Regions from separate parts of the Homo sapiens genome. Here all the other regions are linked to region 2. Evidence: promoter capture Hi-C in 16 types of primary human blood cells and fetal thymus (Javierre and others, 2016). All regions are on one chromosome and are shown on one strand. Each heading gives the region's core, a stretch centred on a gene start or on the middle of the fragment in contact. The rest is flanking DNA. Distances are from core to core; before and after follow the strand shown. Region 1 holds the start of SELL (selectin L). Region 2 holds the start of SELP (selectin P). Region 3 overlaps SELE (selectin E).

What was found. The method cuts DNA at HindIII sites, captures the fragments that hold promoters and counts their contacts. A CHiCAGO score of 5 or more calls a contact.
Region 1: the fragment with the promoter of SELL here is called in contact with the fragment with the promoter of SELP in region 2 in 12 of 17 cell types (neutrophils, non-activated CD4 T cells, total B cells and 9 more); the score reaches 10.2 in neutrophils.
Region 3: a contact is called between a fragment that was not itself captured here and the fragment with the promoter of SELP in region 2, in 1 of 17 cell types (neutrophils). The highest score is 5.5, in neutrophils.

The regions. Positions count from the first base shown.
Region 1 is chr1:169,709,162-169,713,361 of GRCh38, forward strand. SELL (selectin L) reads right to left here and starts at 2,459. Exons shown (of 9, transcript NM_000655.5): 1 at 2,335-2,459; 2 at 1,275-1,356. The coding sequence starts at 2,337. The HindIII fragment of the contact is 5,813 bases long and covers 1-4,099 here.
Region 2 is chr1:169,627,669-169,631,682 of GRCh38, forward strand. SELP (selectin P) reads right to left here and starts at 2,456. Exons shown (of 17, transcript NM_003005.4): 1 at 2,404-2,456. The coding sequence starts at 2,406. The HindIII fragment of the contact is 5,122 bases long and covers 2,144-4,014 here.
Region 3 is chr1:169,729,739-169,733,365 of GRCh38, forward strand. It overlaps SELE (selectin E), which reads right to left. Exons shown (of 14, transcript NM_000450.2): 3 at 2,877-3,260; 4 at 2,097-2,204; 5 at 694-879. Among named protein-coding and RNA genes, the nearest start is that of SELE, 2.5 kb to the right of the region's middle. The HindIII fragment of the contact is 1,647 bases long and covers 1,247-2,893 here.

The DNA.
Region 1 (4,200 bases), core at 1,209-3,708, 81 kb after region 2:
CGTGTAATATCATATAACTATACAATTTACGTATACTTTTTAATCCTGGAATCATTTCTTGAAGGCCAACACATATGTACCTATGGGAGAAGCATAATAAGGACAGGAAGAACAGTGACATACTTTTAAGTAACCTCTTTTACATAAAAAACATTTTATTTTACCATAGGAAGAACTGCTTCTGGAAAAGCCCAATATACCACTCAACTCTTATATATCTAACTGTATAATTTTTAAAAAGAACAATTTACAAAGCCAAATGGTATAGGATTATGAAATTCATTAGATCATGTTCTATACACAAAGAGACTCAACTGATGATGTTTAATAAACATATGGACCCATCAAATATGAGGGCTTTGAAGATATCTAATTAAACACATAATTACACAATGACTTCATAATAATATATGGCATTCTAAGCATGGTATGATCTACATGAATCACTATTTAATACAGTAAAGAAACAGATATAATTGATGGTAAAGAGCATCATAAAATAAACATTTTGAACAGAGTTTTGAATGAGCATTCCACTAGAATGCAAGTTCTAAGAGGGAAAAAACTGTTGTGTCCACTGCTGTATCCTTAGTGCCTAGCATAAATTTCACACATTGTAGGGACTCAGAAAATACCTGTTGTATGAAAAGAGCACTAAGTTTCTATGTGACACAGTGCAGACATGGCATAAGGAATGTGTGAACGGGAGAGTTAGCATGTTTGCTTGGCTAGAGCTGAAAATCCAGGCTAGGGAGAAAGAAGACATTAGTTTACTTAGGAAATGAAAAACCAAGTTCAAAGCTATTGCTGGAGAGTCTTCAAGAATCAGATATAAAATTTGTCACAACAATGGGAGAAGGACCAAAAAATGATAAACCCCCGTCCCTTAATAAGCTCGTATTGTAATTGTAGAAATGACATTAATGTACACTGAACTATGAATAAAAAATAGAAAATGAGGTGCTAAATATTTGGTACAGATTGTAAGTACCTTAACAGAGATTTCTTAATTAACATTATTCCTTTATAATTGAGGGATTTTGTGGGGTTATTGGGATTTGAACTCTACAGCATGGGCTATTATAGGTTAAAAATAGTGTTCAGGAGTTTCTGGGGAAGAACTAAAGGTAAGAAGAAAAGAGATGTTTACAGAAGGGATAGAATTAACAGCTCTGTGAAATAATTTTCCCTTAGACTATGTATAACTAGTGGATATTTAAGAAAAATGAATATAAGTAAAATAGACTTAGCGATATATAAATATCATAACATACCACAACAGAGCATTGTCCACCCCCACAACTTGAAGATGTTCCATAAGTCCCTCTGGGTGCTCTGACATTTCCATGGAAATATCTGCAAATGAAATACAAAATTATATTTAGATGTATACTCTTAAACCACACATTTATAGCCTTTGAGGTGGTGCTTACAACTTTCTTAATAATCAGAATAAAACACATATGTCTACTAACCCTGTCTGAGGTAACAGGTTTCTCAGACATAGATGAAAAATTACTTCAAATTTACATCAGAACTGATGCACAGTTTTGTTTTGTTCTATTTTATTTTTACGCTTTAGTCTCAAGTTGCTAATCGGTACTGCCCTGAATTTTTTCTATGGTTTGGTAATTTTTATACCTGCTTTTCTGCTGAGCTATTAGATAAAACTATTTAATATTTACTATGTATATTTTTTAAAGTATTGTTGCTGCTTAATTAACTATTGATGCTTATATTTAATGTTATAGCCTCACTCTTGATCATAATGGGTCAATGCCTCAAATACCTAAAAAAAAAAAAAATTAGATAGCCAGACACCAGGAAAGAAAAGTATTTCTTTTTTTAATAAAAAGAAATACCTTTTTGAGCAACTGAAATGACAAAGTCACAAATTTCCTGCACACCTTAAAATATACTTAATGTAAATGACGAGTTAATGGGTGCAGCACACCAACATGGCACATGTATACATGTGTGACAAACCTGTATGTTGTGCACATGTACCCTAGAACTTAAAGTATAATTTTAAAAAAATTCTATCTTCCAAAGCATATCACTTCTCAGGTAGACACAGTGTTTATTGCAAAAGATCTGATTTCAATAGTATTTCTTCAAGAGTCTCCCCAGAGACAAAGTCAAGAAGAGGAAATCAGCATATCTGAGAAGAAAGATTTCAGGATCACTTTTTTTGAGGGTCTGAGAAAATGTTTAGTTTCTATATTATTTAAAACCAGAATTGAAATGGGGTGATTCCTATCCTTGCCACCTGCCTCTACAACCCCAAGAGTTTCTATCTGAGCATCTAAACGTCTTTTAGGCTGAAAGGCTCACCATGGCTTTGCTTGGTCCTTCTCTAGTTCTTCTGCAGCCCATTGAGCCTCTTGACTTAGCACAAGGGTCTCAGGTCCTTGCCCAAAGGGAGTGTGCTGTGCTGCAGGTAGACTGCACTGAATGTCAACAGAAAGCCTTGCTTTCTTTCATTTCTCTAACCCAGTCTCACATCCTCCTCCTCCTCCCCTTTTCCCTCCCCTTCCTCCTGCACTTCTCTTTCCTCTTTCCCCACCCCTTTCCTAGACTGGCCTCTATTGCCTCCCACTGAGACAAAAATGAACTGCTGATCAGAAAGTAATGTGACTAGATTCTCTCTTCCTTCCCTCCTTTCTATCCTTCCTTCCATTCTCCTATGCATCTTTCCTTACCCTCCTCCTCCTTCACTCATTGTTGTTGCTGTTCTTCTTCCTCTTCTTTTTCCTCCTGCTCCTCTTCTTCTACTTGTTCTTGTTCTTGTTTTTGTTTGGTTCTTGTTCTCCTCTTCCTCCTTCTCTCTCTCCTCCTCCTCCTTCTTTTCCACCACCCTCCCCTATCTTTTTCATAAATGCTAAACTAACTCTTGGCTACCTGTGGTAAATGGCCCTTGGAAATTGCAAATACTACAAATCAAAACTGCATTTCAGACATATTTATGATGTTTGCAAAACTTCAGTAGAGCTAAGCAGTGGACTTGACTCGTTTCGGTTCCTTCACCTCCGTCTTTCCTTGCTCACCACCTAGTGGACGTCCTTGTTAGTGGCACTTCCTGAAGTTAACCCCTGAAGAGAGCCCATGCTCTCTAGCTTTTCACCGTGTAGGTTTGGGAGCCTACAAGTACCTTTAATATTCTTGGACTATAAAATGAGATGGTTTTATAAGACTGCATGTGAAATTAGGACCCATATGATGAAGGACAATAAAAAGGAAGACCCACTGATGTGAGTCAATGAGTCAAATGCAAATCAGATTTGCATTTTTAGGAAAATAATAATAACAACAACAAAAACTCTGAAGCTCAGCGCCCCATATTTATTATATTGTTTAATCTTTATAACAGCTCTCTGCTATAGATATGATTATTATCCCCATTCTAAAGAGTCTCAAAGAGGTTAAGAAACAAATTCAAAAACTAGCGAAAGACAAGAAATAACTAAGATCAGAGCAGAACCATAGGAGGTAGAGACACGAAAAAGCCTTCAAAAAATCAATAAATCCAGGAGCTGCATTTTGAAAAGATTAACAAAATAGATGGACCACTAGCTAGACTAATAAGAAAGAAGAATCAATAGACACAATAAAAAATGGTAAAGGGGATATTACCACTGATCCCGTAGAAATACAAACTACCATCAGAGATTACTATAAACATCTTTACACAAATAAACTAGAAAATCTAGAAGAAATGGATAAATTCCTGGACACATACACCCTCCCAAGACTAAACCAGGAAGAAGTCAAATCCCTGAATAGACTAATAACAAGTTCTGAAATTAAGGCAGCAATTAATAGCCTACCAACTAAAAAAAGCCCAGGACCAGATGGATTCACAGCCAAATTCTACCAGAGGTACAAAGAGGTGCTGGTACCATTCCTTCTGAAACTATTCCAGAGAATAGAAAAAGAGGAACTCCTCCCTCACTCATTTTATGAGGCCAGCATCATCCTGATACTAAAACCTGGCAGAGACACAACAAAAAAAGAAAATTTCAGGCCAATATCCCTGATGAACATCATTGCGAAAATACTCAATAAAATACGGCAAACTGAATCCAGCAGCACATCAAAAAGCTTATCAACCACAATCAAGTTGGCTTCATCCCTGGAATGCAAGGCTGGTTCAACATACACAAATCAATAAACAGAATCCATTACGTAAACAGAACCAAT
Region 2 (4,014 bases), core at 1,206-3,705:
AGTAAGTCATTTTGATTTTTGAGGATTTGATCAATAAGCTTCTACTTAAAGATCTCTGAAGATGCACATTCTAAGAGCTGGTGGCTAGCCCAGGAGAGTCTGAACTATTTTAGTTGCATTTTGAAAAACAGGTAATGAAAAGAAGAGTAAGGACTGGAAGCCACATAAGGTGGTTAAAAGGTATAAATGGACGAAAATCCAGACCTGCTCCTTAGCCCACTAAAACTTTTTTTTTGTTTTGTTTTTGAGACAAGTCTTGCTCTGTCACCCAGGCTGGAGTTCAGTGGTGTGATCTCAACTCACTGCCACCTCCACCTCCTGGGTTCAAGAGTTTGTCCTGCCTCAGCCTCCTGAGTAGCTGGGATTACAGGCACATGCCAACATGCCCAGCCAGTTTTTGTAAGTTTAGTAAATATGGTGTTTCACCATGTTGGCCAGGCTGCTCTTGAACTCTCGACTTCAAGTGATCTATGCGCCTCGGCCTCCCAAAGTGCTGGGATTACAGGCATGAGCCACTGAGCCCGGCCATAGCCCGCTAAAACTTTGACAAACATCAGTGCAATTTAACTATAAGTTCCCAATCAAGAGCTACTCCTCTGAGATCTATCTGATTGAAAATACCCCACCAGAAAAACCTTATCCTCATTTTCTCAGGTCCTAAAAGTTAATTAAAGCCACTCTCTGAACTTGAAGCAAAATTTACACAGGCAGTTTGAGGTTTCTGAATCTTTGGGGCCAAATGTGCTCAGAGGAAAAGGAAGAGGTCTTGTCTTTGAAATATTAAAAACCATTCCAGGGCTGGGGCCTTAGCACTTCGCTGTAGAGCTCAAGCCTAATTTCAGGGTACCAAGAGAGGGGCTTCTGAACATAAAGCCCAGGAGGCAATCGAGAAGGGTTCTTACCCTGGGATCCACATGGAGGTCTGGGAACCTCCTGTGGTTGTCTCTAAAGGTTGGTGTTTATGTCGATGTTTTTGCTTTCATCTGGGAAAGACAAGTTGTAACTTTCATCAAAATCTCAAAGAACTCTCTGATCCAATAAGTTCATACCTTTGAAATAGAGGAGGATGCCAAGGAGAGTAGAAGGAAGAGAGGAATAACTGCTCATTTAAGTTAACCAATTCAGAAGTATGACATGCAAAAAGACAGGACAAAAGTAATTCATATCCTTAGGTCATTGTGGTTCAAACTTAAGACAGGCTCAAACTCCTTCCTCTTCTCTTTATCATACTCTTATTCCTGTTTTCCCCAACACAGAAACCCACATTATAAGTACTTGAAAAGTGTGCTATAGTAAAGCAAAGCAGTAGGATGAATCAGGTGTATGCGGTACTTTTTTCTGGAGTCCCACAGAAAGGTGCTCAAAAACAGAGACCTGCCTGGTTCCTCCATAGCCACAGACTGCAGGATTTCGGACCCTGGGACTATGTGGGATACTCTTGGAAAGTCTGAGGAAAATTGGAAGTAGCTTAACCATGTGCATTTTATCTAGGTGCATATAACATTGCTGAGTTCAAAATGCCTAGCTATCCTTGGATCTTCCCTGAATTAGAAGTAGCCTAACCACGTGCATCTTATCCATGAGCATATAACATTGCTGAGTTCAAAATGCCTAGCTATCCTTGGATCTTCCCTGAATCCTAAACCCCACTATTCCTAAGAATTTTCTTTTTATTGTAACAATAATGGCTAACATTTACTAATCACTTACTATGTGTCAGGCTCAGATCTGGATGCTTTTCAGCAAAATCTTATTTAATCCTCATGATGAAACTATAGAGTATTATTACTATATCCATTTTATAGAAGAAGAAACTGAGTCATTAACAAGATTGAGTCTTAGGGCAGAAAAGGAAACTATGTGGATATTCCAGATCAGTCCCAGAAGATTCATAGGCTCACAGAAAGAAATGGGAGGGATGGGGATGAGAAACTATTCAATTGTAAGCTTGTCCCAGGGCACCTACCCAGTCTTCCATTTATTCCATCATTTATCCCAGAGAGAAGTACAGTCTTGGAAAATGGGGTGACAGGTTTACCATGATCTATTCTCAGAGAGCCCCTATAAATTCTAGTAGGAGGAACAGCAGCTGCGGAGCCAGAGGACAGGCCCCAGATCCCAACATCATGTAGCCTAACAGTGAAGCTTAGATAAAACACAGCCTCTGTAAACCACGATGGCTTTATTTGTAAAATAGAAATAGCAACCTCAACTCACAAGGGTGTTGGGAGGGTCAAAGTGGACAGCAAGTTTAAAAGTACTCACAAAATCTAATAGGCAATTCAACATAAAACTCCATGGCTATCGCTGTTCCTCACTTTCTGAACCTTTACCTGCCTGACTTTACTCCATACCACTCCAACTCACTTCAACCACTTCCCATGCAGAAAAAAATAAACTCACCATCTCCTCTGTGACTCTGCTGGTTTTCTGCCTTCTGCCCAACCCAGACTGCTTACAGTCTCACTGCCTCCCCTCAGTGTCAGGCTGTTTAGAAAAACAACTTCCTATTCACATTCCAGAAACTCACCACAGCCCTTCCCATGAAGTTAGAATGTTGATAATGCAAGAGTAATGTTGGCAGCTTAGAAATAGTGGTTGCCAAGAGGCAAGGGGTCACCCCCTTCCATGGAAGATGGTCTGGAGGCAGGCGCAAGGTGAATTACTCCTGGATATCCCAGGCTGAGCAATGTGGGAACAGTACACACACAAAGGTTTCCTTGGATTATGATATAAGCTCCAATTTAAAGTAGTACATTTGGAAAACATGCTTTGAATTAATTACAATGTGATTTTCCAGTGCCCATTTTCCAGTAATTATGACATGTCAGTGAATGTTTACTATTCCGGCAGCCTTCTGAGGGAAAGAAGCAAAATTAGTAGCACAAAAAAAAATAGAGAGAAATGGAAAAAGCCACTAACAGTTTTCTGGCGCTTGGGAAATTTTATTGGTAAGTTTCAAAATGACGTATTAAATAGACATAGGTCATGTGAAAGGAATTCTGCTTCTTATATCAGAAATAAAAAGGTATACAAATAGATACCTTTTTATTTTCCTCTTCCCATGGGATGTGTAGGACCAAAAAGCTGTTGGCATAGTGGTTAAGACTTCAGCTGTGCTGTTAAACTGCCCGAGACCCATCCTGGCTCCTCTTCTGGCTATCTACTGGGCAAACTACTTAAGCTCTCTATGCCTCTGTTTCCTCAACTGTAAAACAGAATAACAGAACTTGCCTCACCGGGTTGTTGTAGGATGAAATGAGTTAATATGTACAGAGTGATTGAAATGACACTTGGCCCACAATTGATGCTCAACAAATGTTAGTGATTATTATTACTTTTCAGATTGATCTCAGACAGCAAAATCAAGTATCAAGTATTTAGTTTCAAGTCAGAAAGCCATAACTCCTATTTATACTCTTGGAATTCTATTGTACAGTAGTAGGTATTATTCTTCATTCACTTCATGATGGTTACAGCTTGTAAATAGGCATCTCATGGATAAATTTAAAATGGAATGAAGTAGAAACATTGGAAGAAAGTCTAAAGGTAAAGATGAATTAGGGTATATAAGGCTGCATTTGCACGTTGGAATTTGGGACCAAGAAGAAAAAATTAATTATATAGTAGAAGTAGAAAAGATGGTGAAGGAAATGCTGTTGAAGGAATGACTGTAGGGGAATAAGGGAAACTTAGAGAGAGGAAAAAATGAGGAACTTCTTGGCAGCATGATGCAGTTCAGAGTCCAGACCCTAGAGTCAGACTGCCTGGCTCCACCACCTACCAGCTGTGTTGGGCGTTACTAATCTCCCTATAACTCAGTTTCCTCAGTGATGTGGTTTGGCTGTGTCCCCACCCAAATCTCATCTGGAATTGTAGCTCCCATAATTCCCACAGGTTGTGGGAGGCACCTGGTAGATCATTGAATCATGGGGGTGGTTTCCCCCATACTGTTCTCATGGTAGTGAATAAGTCGCATGAGAGCTGATGGTTTTATAAGGGGAAACCCCTTTT
Region 3 (3,627 bases), core at 820-3,319, 100 kb after region 2:
GGTGCCTAACAGAGTGAGGAAGCTGCCTTCAAAGGGTAGATCCCAAAGTCCTATGTCAATTCTTAGGGACATGCACAGCCAGAATAAAAGCTTTTATTCTTTTTCATGGATATTCTATCTTTTCTGATTTCCACTTTGCCTATGCTGAGTGGTCTCTAATCTATGTTATCATTTACGTGAGGTAAAAATTTAAAAAAAATAGATTCCAGATTAGGAGTTATGACTAGTACTGACATACGTAGGCTATTCATTTATTTTAGCCCATCAGAGCCTGAAGAACTGATTTTTCTTTTTTTGGCCTCTGGTTCAGAAAGATAAAATTAAGAGAGAAAAAGAGATACTAAGACTGCTTGACTATCATGGTCTTAAGTTAGTCCCATGGCTTGGAAAAGTTAAACAGGGAAACAAGATGAGAAATCCATTGAGATTTCTAGAGCTTTATTGTTTTATGGTCTCCCTTACAAATCACCAGAGCCTCAGAAACACCCATTTCAAGCATAGAATAAAAAAACCTCTCTCAACCCAAGCAGGTACTGGGTTGGCAATATACATTGGCTGAGAGAACAAATTGTATTAAAAACAAAAACAAAAAAAAAACTTTCCCTGAAGTTTTGAAAATGTAAGTTGAATCAAAAAACAGAAGCAATGAGGGATGAGTTACAGAACGTTCTGTGCATTCTCAGAGGGATTTACCATTGCAGGCTGGAATAGGAGCACTCCATTCTCCAGAGGACATACACTGCATGGTCTCCATGCTGCTTGGCAGGTAACCCCTATCACAGCTGATAGAGCAGGAAGAATTGTAGCTGAAGTTTCCCAGTGGGTGACTGCAAACCAGGCTTCCATGCTCAGGGGATTCCAGGGCTGTACAGTTCACAACTGAAAAAGAAACCCAAATCAGTTCTGCTCATCTCTCACCTTTAACAGATAAGAACACTGGAAACTAGAACTACAGTTTGGTTTTTTTTTTTTTTAGTTTAAAAATTTATAAAATTTCTAATGGAATTTGTAAAATTGACTGTAATTCTACCCCTTTTCTTTTATTCAAGAAAATGCTGATCCATAACAACAACAACAAAAAAGCAGTGATGACAACCATAAAAAAGAAATATTGAGTGATATGGGGAGAGTAGTGTAATTGTGTTTACCTCAAAACTGTTCAAATTATATGAACAAACACAGCAAACTTAGGTACCACAACAAATTTCTTGTTACTTTTCTCACAACTGCTAAAAATACTACAGTAAGCTTCCAACCAGGATGAGAACCATTCACAAAGCTATATTTCAAATTTAAGTACTAGAATACATTACAAATTTTAAAACCCTAATGCTGCACTGTCTACTATAGTAGCCACTATCTGTGTGGCTACTCAAATTTAAACTTGAATTCGTTGAAATCAAATAACATTTAAAATTCAGTTCCTCAGTGTCACCAGCCACATTTCAAGTACTCAATAACCACATGTGGCTCATAGGTACACACTGGAAAACACAGCTATGGAACATTTCCATTATCACAAAAGCTCTACTGCACAACGCTGTGCTAAGGAATCTTGGAGAGAAGCTCATCTAACTCTCTTAATGTACAAATTTAGGAACTGAGACCTCATTTCATTCAAGTGACTTGCTCCATGCTACACGGCTAGTCATTACAGAGCCAGAGGCCAGAGCATGAACCAAGATACCCTGGACTCTGTAACTCACTCATTTCTACTGCAACGTCTTGTTACCACCTAGATGAGGTGAGTACATGTTCCTCGCAGGGACACAGAATTACAGTTTATTGAATGTGTCCTGTGTGCCAGGCACCATGTAACCATGAGCCTATGAAGTTCACACTATTATTATCCTCATTTTACAATGAGAAAACTGACATAGAGAGTTAAACTATCTTGTCAAGGTGCCAAAATAAATAACTGGTGAATCTAGGACTCAAACCCAGCAGGGTCTGACTTCATAGTCTCAGCTCACGATCACCATATGACACCATCTGCACCAGGGAAGGGAAGGCATGCAGACCTGACTCTAATGCCAGCTAGGACGTGAGATGGTGCTACCATCTCAAGTGAAGAAAGAGGCAAGAACCAGACTTACTTTGCTCACACTTGAGTCCACTGAAGCCAGGGTCACACTTGCAAGTGTAATTATTGATGGTCTCTACACATTCACCGTGGCCACTGCAGGATGTATTGGTACAGGCAGCTACGGAAAATACAAAGCATGATGAGGAGGACTATTACTGTGCTTATACTGAGTGCCTTTGATTTTAGAATCAACAGTGTGCAACAGAGACATCAGCAGTCCTACAGAGTGCCATAGACTTTAACTGAAGTGTTTTACAAAGTTCCAAATCTGAGTTTCAGGCCCACCTATCCTAAACCTTGATGCTAATGTATAGCTGTGGCTGGCACCTACCGTAGAAAATTTACTTCTTCACAAACTCTGAAGACAGTTCCCCTACCACAAATAAACAAGTAATTAAAATATGTATTGTGTGTGTGCATTTTTATATGTAAAGAACTACATATTTGCCTACAGTATTTATATATATTTTATATATATACATACACACATATATGTGTGTATATGTGTGTATGTATATATATAAAATGTATATAAATGCTGTAGGCTATATATATATACACACACACATATATGTGTGTGTGTATATATGTGTGTGTGTGTATATATATACATATCCACATATTCTTGCCCACATTCACACAAAACAGCAAAAGAGAGAAACTTTAGCAGTTAAACAGAATCTTTTGGAACATAAAATGACCACAATAGAGAGCAGTTTTTGCATGCTGTAAATTTGCCAAGATGCCCACACACTGAAACTACCTCCCACTGCTGCCGCAAACTCCCTACCTGTGTAGCATAGGGCAAGCTTCTTCTTGCTGCACCTCTCATCATTCCACATGCCCACATCTTTTTCTCTCTTGATGTAGATCTCCACGCAGTCCTCATCTTTTTGCCTATTGTTGGGTTCACCTGGAGCCCAGTTCTTGGCTTCTTCTGTCAGAGGTTTCTGGGTTCCTACCCAGACCCACACATTGTTGACTTTTCTGATTCCAATCCAGTAATAACTTGGTGAATAGCTCAATATGGAGTTTAGGTACTCAATCTCTTCTTTGTTTTGAATTGCAACCAGGTGTGTGTACCTTTGCTGACAATAAGCACTGGCCTCATCATAAGTCATAGCTTCCGTGGAGGTGTTGTAAGACCAGGCTCCACTCTCTTTAATGAGAAGCACTAGTGGGAGAAAAAGAAAAGAAATGGTAGAGTTTGGTACTGTTGTGGTTTAACTCTGACAACTGTGCTTTTTATTGTCTTATTTTTGGCAATGTTTGTGACATGGCCCAGACTTTTCTCATCTTTTCAAAAGTAAGAAGTACGTATGAAGAAACAGCGACTTATTGTTTATCTCTTTTGTGACTGCCACCCACTAGGTACCTTATCCACACTCACTCACAACATTATAGTATACCCATTTTGTAGTAGAATAATAATCAGAATAACTAAGCTTTATTGAGCACTTAGTATGCACCAAGAAGCACTGTATGAGGTACTTTCCATGAACCATGCTATTGAATCCTCACAATGCATCTGGGAAATAGGT